2 separate regions of the Homo sapiens genome follow, and region 1 is linked to region 2. The links are contacts of gene promoters, found by promoter capture Hi-C in blood cells and fetal thymus (Javierre and others, 2016). All regions are on one chromosome and are shown on one strand. Each heading gives the region's core, a stretch centred on a gene start or on the middle of the fragment in contact. The rest is flanking DNA. Distances are from core to core; before and after follow the strand shown. Region 1 overlaps LOC124904746 (a long non-coding RNA gene). Region 2 holds the start of KLK6 (kallikrein related peptidase 6).

The links. The method cuts DNA at HindIII sites, captures the fragments that hold promoters and counts their contacts. A CHiCAGO score of 5 or more calls a contact.
Region 1: a fragment that was not itself captured here is called in contact with the fragment with the promoter of KLK6 in region 2 in 2 of 17 cell types (M0 macrophages and total B cells); the score reaches 7.6 in M0 macrophages.

Annotation. Positions count from the first base shown.
Region 1 is chr19:50,180,653-50,184,276 of GRCh38, reverse strand. All of the region lies in intron 1 of LOC124904746 (a long non-coding RNA gene), which reads left to right. Among named protein-coding and RNA genes, the nearest start is that of IZUMO2, 19 kb to the right of the region's middle. The HindIII fragment of the contact is 446 bases long and covers 1,381-1,826 here.
Region 2 is chr19:50,968,336-50,972,336 of GRCh38, reverse strand. It overlaps KLK6 (kallikrein related peptidase 6), which reads left to right and starts at 2,746. Exons shown (of 7, transcript NM_002774.4): 1 at 2,746-2,847; 2 at 3,746-3,796. LOC105372442 (a long non-coding RNA gene) reads right to left here. Exons shown (of 7, transcript XR_007067308.1): 4 at 3,984-4,001. The HindIII fragment of the contact is 4,765 bases long and covers 1-4,001 here.

The DNA of each region.
Region 1 (3,624 bases), core at 354-2,853, 790 kb after region 2:
AGACGTCAGTAGGCTTCAGCCATAAACACTTCATTGCACACATCATTAATTCAATTTCAATATTTGTTTAGGGTTCCTTTTATTTAGGTAAAATTTACAGACAGTTAAATGTACAATTGCTAAGTATACCATTCAATGAGTTTTGACAAACGTATACACCCAACTAGAAAAAAATAGAACATTTCCATGTCCTAGAAAGTTACCTGACACTCTCCCCAGCCAACTCGCACCTCCACCCACCCCCAGGCAACTAATGTTCTGCTTTTTATCACCACAGATTAGTTTTGTCTGTTCTAGAGCTTTTTATAAATAGAATCCTATAGTAGATGATCTTTTGTGTTTCTTTCACTCCACGTAAAGCTTTTGATATTCATCCATGTTGTTATATGAATCAGTCATTTCTCTCTTTATTTTTATTTATTATTATTATTTTTTTTTTGAGACGAGGTTTTGCTCTTGTTGCCCAAGCTGGAGTGCAGTGGCACAGTCTCGGCTCACCGCAACCTCCACCTCCCGGGTTCAAGCGATTCTCCTGCCTCAGCCTCCCAAGTAGCTGGGATTACAGGCGCCCACCACCACGCCCGGCTAATTTTTGTATTTTTGAGACGGAGTCTTTTTCTGTCGCCCAGGCTGGAGTGCAGTGGCATGATCTTGGCTCACAGCAAACTCCGCTTCCTGGGTTCAAGCGATTCTCCTGCCTCAGCCTCCGGAGTAGCAGGGATTACAGGCACGTGCCACCACGCCCGGCTAATTTTTGTATTTTTAGTAGAGACAGGGTTTCACCATGTTGGCAAGGCTGGTCTCGAACTCCTGACCTCAGGTGATCTGCCTGCCTCGGCTTCCCAAAGTGCTGGGATTACAGGCACGAGCCACCACGCCCAGCCGAGAGACCCCTATCTCTACAAAATTAAAAAAAAAAAATTGCCAGACATGGTGGCACACGCCTGTAACAAAAAGAAATCAGTAGGTGACCCAGGTCTTGGCTCAAGGATTGCTTGAGCCTGGGAGGTCAAGCCTGCAGTGGCTGTGACTGTGCCACCACACTCCAGCCTGGGCAACACAGTGAGACTCTGTCGGAAGGAAGGAAGGAAGGAAGGATGGAAGGAAGGAAAGAAGGAAGGAAGGAAGGAAGGGAAGGGAGGGGAGGGGAGGGGAAGGGAGGGGAGGGAAAGAAAGAGAAAGAGAGAGAGAAAGAAGGGAAGGAGGGAGGGAAGGAGGGGAAGGAGGAGGAAGGAAGGAAGGAAGGAAGGAAAGAAGGAAGGGAGGGAGGGAGGGAGGGAGGGAGGGAAAGGGTTCGTAGATTAGTCCACAGAAATGTTACCATGTTTATTTCATAATATTTTACTGTGGTTATGAAAAGTTTCAACCTTTGGAGAAGCTTGGGTGAAGAGTGAGAATTCTTTGCATTATTTTGTATGAGAATTCTTTGCATTATTTTTGCAACTTTTTTGTTAAGTCTGAAATTATTTCAAAATAAAAAGGTTTTCAAAAGCCATATATGGCAAAACCTTCACATGCATCATATTTCTTTAACCCTTTCAGCACCATTATCTCAATTTCACCAACACAGAAACAGACTTAGAGACAGATAAGTAAGGGGCAGAGCTGGGATTTGAACTCATGTGAGTCTGATTCCAGTGCTCACATTTTTAAAAATTCAACACAATTTTTTAAGCACCTACCGTATGCTGGGCACTGTGCTGTGAACTGAGAATACCCCCATAGACAAGCCAGAGTGTCTGTCCTCCTGGATCTCAACTTCTCATGGAAGAGACAATGAACAAGTAAACAATAAAATGTTTGACATAATGTCAGGCGGTGAAGCTTTTATTTATTTATTTATTTATTTTATTTTTATTTATTTTTATTTTTTAGATGGTGTCTCGCTCTGTCACCAGGCTAGAGTGCAGTGGCACGATCTCAGCTCACTGCAACCTCTGCCCCCCCACCCCGGGTTCAAGCGATTCTCCTGCCTCAGCTTCCCAAGTAGCTGGGACTACAGGTGCCTGCCACCACACTTGGCTGGTTTTTGTATTTTTAGTAGAGACGGGGTTTCACCATGTTGGTCAGGCTGGTCTCAAATCGCTGACCTCATGATCTGCCCCACTCGGCCTCCCAAAGTGCTGGGATTACAGGTGTGAGCCATCACGCTGGGCAGGCAGTGAAGCTTTTAAAAATGCTGAACAAGGCTGAGCGTAATGGCTCATGCCTGTAATCCCAGCACTTTGGGTGGCTAAGGCGGGCGGATCATTTGAGGTCAGGAGTTCGAGGCCAGCCTCTACTCCTGTCTCTACCGAGAATCAAAAAGTTAGCCGGGCATGGTAGCACATGCCTGTAGTCCCAACTACTCTGGAGGCTGAGGCAGGAGGATCGCATGAGCCCAGGAGTTCAAGGCTGCAGTGAGCTATGATTGCACCACTGCACTGCAGCGTGGGCAACAGAGAAAGACCCTGGAGGGTGGATCACCTGAGGTCAGGAGTTCGAGACCAGCCTGGCCAACATAGTGAAACCCCATCTCTACTACAAAACTACAAAAATTAGCCAGGTGTGGTGGCACATGCCCGTAATCCCAACTATTTGGGAGGCTGAGACAGGAGAATCACTTGAACCCAGGAGGCAGAGGTTGCAGTGAGCCAAGATCGCGCCACTGCACTGCAGCCTGGGTGACAGAGAGAGACCCTGTTTCAAAAAAAATACAACAAAACAAGGCAACAGGGGGATAGAGAGAACATAGTAAGGAGCTGAATACTGAGAATAGGAAACAAAAGTACAGTGAAGGTAGAAGTTTTAAACCTCTGCGCTTTGGCTACCTGCGTCCCTAATTTGGTGCCTCCAAGTCTGAACTCTTACCCATTAAGCTAAATTACCTCCCACAGATGCCGTAATTAATCAGCTCTTTCCTTGACTCAGGGCTGTTATTACAAACATGGGTCATTACACCTATGGTTATTGAGCAATACTCTCTAGATCAGGGATTCTCACAGTTTCATATGCTCTAAAAATGTGCGTTGGTAAAAGCCATCAAATGAGCTCTGTGTGAGAAAGAGTAACTTTACAGAGGAGAAACTGGGTAGACAGCATCTTAAGCATGGGATCAAAGTTAGTATCACCCGTTGTGGGACCTGCTGACATCAGAGACCTCTTGATGTCATGCATCAAGGACACAGCATCCCTCCCGCAGTTAATGTTGTGAGGGATCTTAAAATTCTGATTCAGCAGGTCCAGGGTGGGGTGGAGGTTCTGTATTTTTAATATAAACTCCAGGTGATGCTGATGCTGCTACTTCATGGACCACATTTTAAGCAGCAAAGCTGGAGCTGCTTAAACTTGAGCAAAGCTGAAACCACCTCTAGGACTTGGTAAAATCCAGATTGTATAGATTGCACGGTGGCTCGTGCCTGTAATCCCAGCACTTTGGGAGGCCAACGCAGGAGAATTGCTTGAGGCCAGGAGTTCAAGACCGGCCTGGGCAACATAGCAAGACCCTCATCTCTATTTTAAAAAAATTAAAATTAACCAGGTGTAGTGACATGCACCTGTAGTCCAGCTACTCAGGAGGCTGAAGTGGGAGAATCACTTGGGCCCAGGAGTTTGAGGCTGCAGTGAACTGTGATTGAGCCACTG
Region 2 (4,001 bases), core at 1,497-3,996:
ATTATGGCTTACTGCAACCTGGGCCTCCAGGCTCAAGCAACTATCCCACCTCAGCCTTCTGCATAGCTGGGACCACAGATGTGTGCCACCACACCTAGGTAATTTTTTTCTTTTCTTTTTTTTGTTTTTTTTTTTAGAGATAGGGTCTCACTATATTGTCCAGGCTGGTCTCGAACTCCTAGGCTCAAGTGATCTTCCCACCTCTGCCTCCCAAAGTGCTTGGATTACAGGCATGAGCCACCTTGCCCAGCCATGTCAGGCTGGGGTGCAGTGGTATAGTCACAGCTCACTGCAGGCTCGACCTCCCAGGCTCAGCAATTCTCCCGCCTCAGCCTCCGGAGTAGCTGGGACTACAAGTGTGCACCACCACATCTGGCTAATTTTTTTACTTTTTGCAGAGATGGTTTCTCACTATGTTGCCCAGGCTGGTCATGAACTTCCGGACTCAAGCTATCTACCCACCTTGGCCTCTCAAAGTGCTGGGATTACAGACATGAGCCACCATGCCTGGCCTTAAATTTATTTTTTAATTGACAAGTAAAAATTGTATATATTTCTGGTGTATAACATCATGTTTGATATATGTATGTATATGTTGTGGAATGGCTAAACCAAGCTATTTAACATATGCATTATTTTACACCCTTATTTTTTGTGGTAAGGACACTTAAAAAATCTTCTGACTTAAAAAAAAAAGTATGGTGATTGGAAAATGTAAATGTGCATGCGTGCTTGGCATCACATTTCATTGGCCAGGACTTCCCTGGATGCTAAAGGTCCTCAAATGCCAGGCTGGGGGGCTGGGACTTGGTCCCAAGGGAGATGGGGACCCAGGGCACGTCTGTGAGAGGAGGGGCAAGGTCAGCACAAGGCACAGGAAGGTCTCTCTGGGGCAAGGGATACAGAGAACAGAGGGATCCTGGTCCAGGTGGGAGAGGTGCAGCTCTGAGTTGGGGTTGAGGGTGTGGGTACAGAGAGGAAGGGACCCCCCAGAGAGAGGAGGCAGAGGGATAGGGCCTGGTCACTGGGTTGTGCAACATCAGACTTGCTGTCTGTGAAGATAGCACGTCCTGAGAAGAAGGTGCTGAGGTCAGTGGGGACCAAATGTGAGAGGGAGCACCCGGAGAGTATACTGAATACCGAAGTAGTCTTCATCCCTGGAGTGATGGGGGGTGCACAATGCAAGATGACAATTAGATTCAATGCAAGACAAAGAAAAGGGTTGGCTGGGAACAGTGGCTCATGCCTATGGTCCCAGCTCCTGGGAAGACTGAGGCGGGAGGGTCGCTTGAGCCCAGGAGGGTTGAGGCTGCCACGAGCAAGGATCGTGCCACTGCACTCCAGCCTAGGCGACAGAACAAGACCTTGTCTCAAAAGAAAAAAGAACTTTTTTTTTTAAGTTACCTGTAGTGCCCAGCCCAAGCAGGTGCTGAGCCAGACTTCATTCCTATCATTGTCCTTATTACGCAGTGACTTCCCCCTCCTCATTTCTCTCCACTCTGCCACGCACACACCCTCACCCTCCAGCCCATACCAACCACCCCAACCACTGCCTGTGGTTTCCCATGTGCACCCAGGCCAGGCATTTTCACGGCCTTTCCTCCTGACCTACGCCTGGCTCAGCTTTCTAGGCCCAAGTTCAAAGACACCTCCCTAAATCTTCCCAGATCCCTCTGCTACTGCCCAGCACCACCATCTTATCACAGCCCCACGTCGTTCCCAAGTGCTCTCCGATTTCTGCTTAACTCCATGCCTCTCGCTGTGTGTCCGCATCTCATCAATAAGTCCTCAAGTCCTCTTCCATCCTGCTAGCTTCCTCATCGCTCGGGAATCATCCCCGCTACTTCCTGGGGAAACTGACTCCCTTCTGGGCACACACAGTGCTACCCCCGGGGAAATCTAAGAAGAGACCCAGGAGAAGATAAGCACGGAGAGTCAGAGAATCAAGGGGAAAGAAAGGGAGAGAGGCCGGGCACAGTGGCTCACACCTGTAATCCAGCACTTTGGGAGGCCAAGGTGGGTGGATCACCTGAGGTCAGGAGTTTGAGACCAGCCTGGCCAACATGGTGAAACCTCTTCCCTACTAAAAATACAAAAAACATTTAGCCGGGCGTGGTGGTGGGTGCCTGTAATCCCAGCTACTTGGGAAGCTGAGGCAGGAGAACTGCTTGAACTCAGGAGGCGGAGGTTGCAGTGAACTGAGATCACACCACTGCACTCCAGCCTGAGTGACAGAGCAAGACTCCGTCAAAAAAAAAGAAAGAAAGAAAGAAAAGAAGGAAGGAAAGAAAGAAGGAAGGAAGGAAGGGAGGAAGGGAGAGAGGAAGGGAGAGAGGAAGGGAGAGAGAGAAAAAAAGAGGGAGAGAGACACAAATACAGAGACTGAGATGGGAGAGAGAGAGAGATGGAAGCTCCCTCCCCTCCATGGCCAGGGAGACAGATGGAGCAAGAGACCTCAGGGGTGGGCAGACTTGGAGGAGAAGGACCAGGAGGATGTGGAGTGCCGAAATCTCCAGTCAGGGCCAGGTGGGCAGTCAGAGACTGCAAAGGAGGACTGTCAGACAGGGACAAAAGGAAGCCATTGATGTAACCGCCCTCCCGCCTGCCCGCCGGAAGAGAGGTTGAGGCCGGAGCTGCTGGGAGCATGGCACTGGGGTGCTGGGGGCGGACAAAGCCCGATTGTTCCTGGGCCCTTTCCCCATCGCGCCTGGGCCTGCTCCCCAGCCCGGGGCAGGGGCGGGGGCCAGTGTGGTGACACACGCTGTAGCTGTCTCCCCGGCTGGCTGGCTCGCTCTCTCCTGGGGACACAGAGGTCGGCAGGCAGCACACAGAGGGACCTACGGGCAGGTGTGTGAGTCACCCCAACCGCACTGAACCTGGGCAGGCTGCTTCCCAGTGCCGGAGGGCTCTAGAGCCCGGAGTGAGGGCCTGCAGGTCCCTGGGTGGCACAGAGAGTGCTGGGGGTGCAGGGAGGCCTGGGGCACCATCTGCTTGCCCCAGAGGCCGGAATTTGTCTTCAGACACTTTCTTTCTCCAAAACCCGGAGGTCTAAGGACTGAGCCGACTAGAACTTCCTCTGCCTCAGATTCAGGCCCCAGCCCCTCCTCCCTCAGACCCAGGAGTTTAGGTCCTAGCCCCTCCTCCCTCAGACCCAGGAGTCCAAGTTCCCACCTCCTCCCTCAGACTCAGGAGTCCAGGCCCCCAGCCCCTCCTCCCTCAGACCCAGGAGTCCAAGTTCTCACCTCCTCCCTCAGACCCAGGAGTCCAGGCCCCAAGCCCCTCCTCCCTCAGACGCAAGGGTCCAGGCCCCCAGCCCCTCCTCCCTCAGACTCAGGAGTCCAGGCCCCCAAGCCCCTCCTCCCTCAGACCCAGGAGTCCAGGCCCTCACTGCACTCAGGGACCAGTGCTCCCTTCCCTGGAGGCCTGGTCAGGGGTCACCAAGAGCAGAGCGTGGGGGCGGGAGGAATGTGTGTGGGAGGCCTGGGTAAGGAGGAAAAGGGTGTAGCCAGTCTCCTGGCTCAGGGACCTGAGAGACAGGGGTTAAAAGGACGTTCCAGAAGCATCTGGGGACAGAACCAGCCTCTTCCAGGGAGGCCTGGGAGCTGGGGGTGTGTGTCTGGCAGTCCCTGCAGCCCTGGGCTCTGCGGCCCCTGCGTCCTCCGCTTGGCTCTGCCACTGCATCTGAGTGTCTTCTCTCCTCACGGCTCCCCGCATTTCTAACTCTTTCTGCCTCCTCGTCTCAAAGCTGTTCCTTCCCCCGACTCAAGAATCCCCGGAGCCCGGAGGCCTGCAGCAGGTGAGATCACAGACATCACAGAACCTGCCGGGTGGGCGGGGTGGGTGGCCATTGCGCACAGAGCCAGGCTCCGAGGAAAACTCCCATACAGAGGAAGAACGCTAGGGCCCCCTAGGGTAACCCTCTCCTGTCGACAGGAAGGCAAATCAGTGCCCAAGAAAGTAGAAAGATCTAATCAGAATCTCACCATGGGTTACTGGACCAG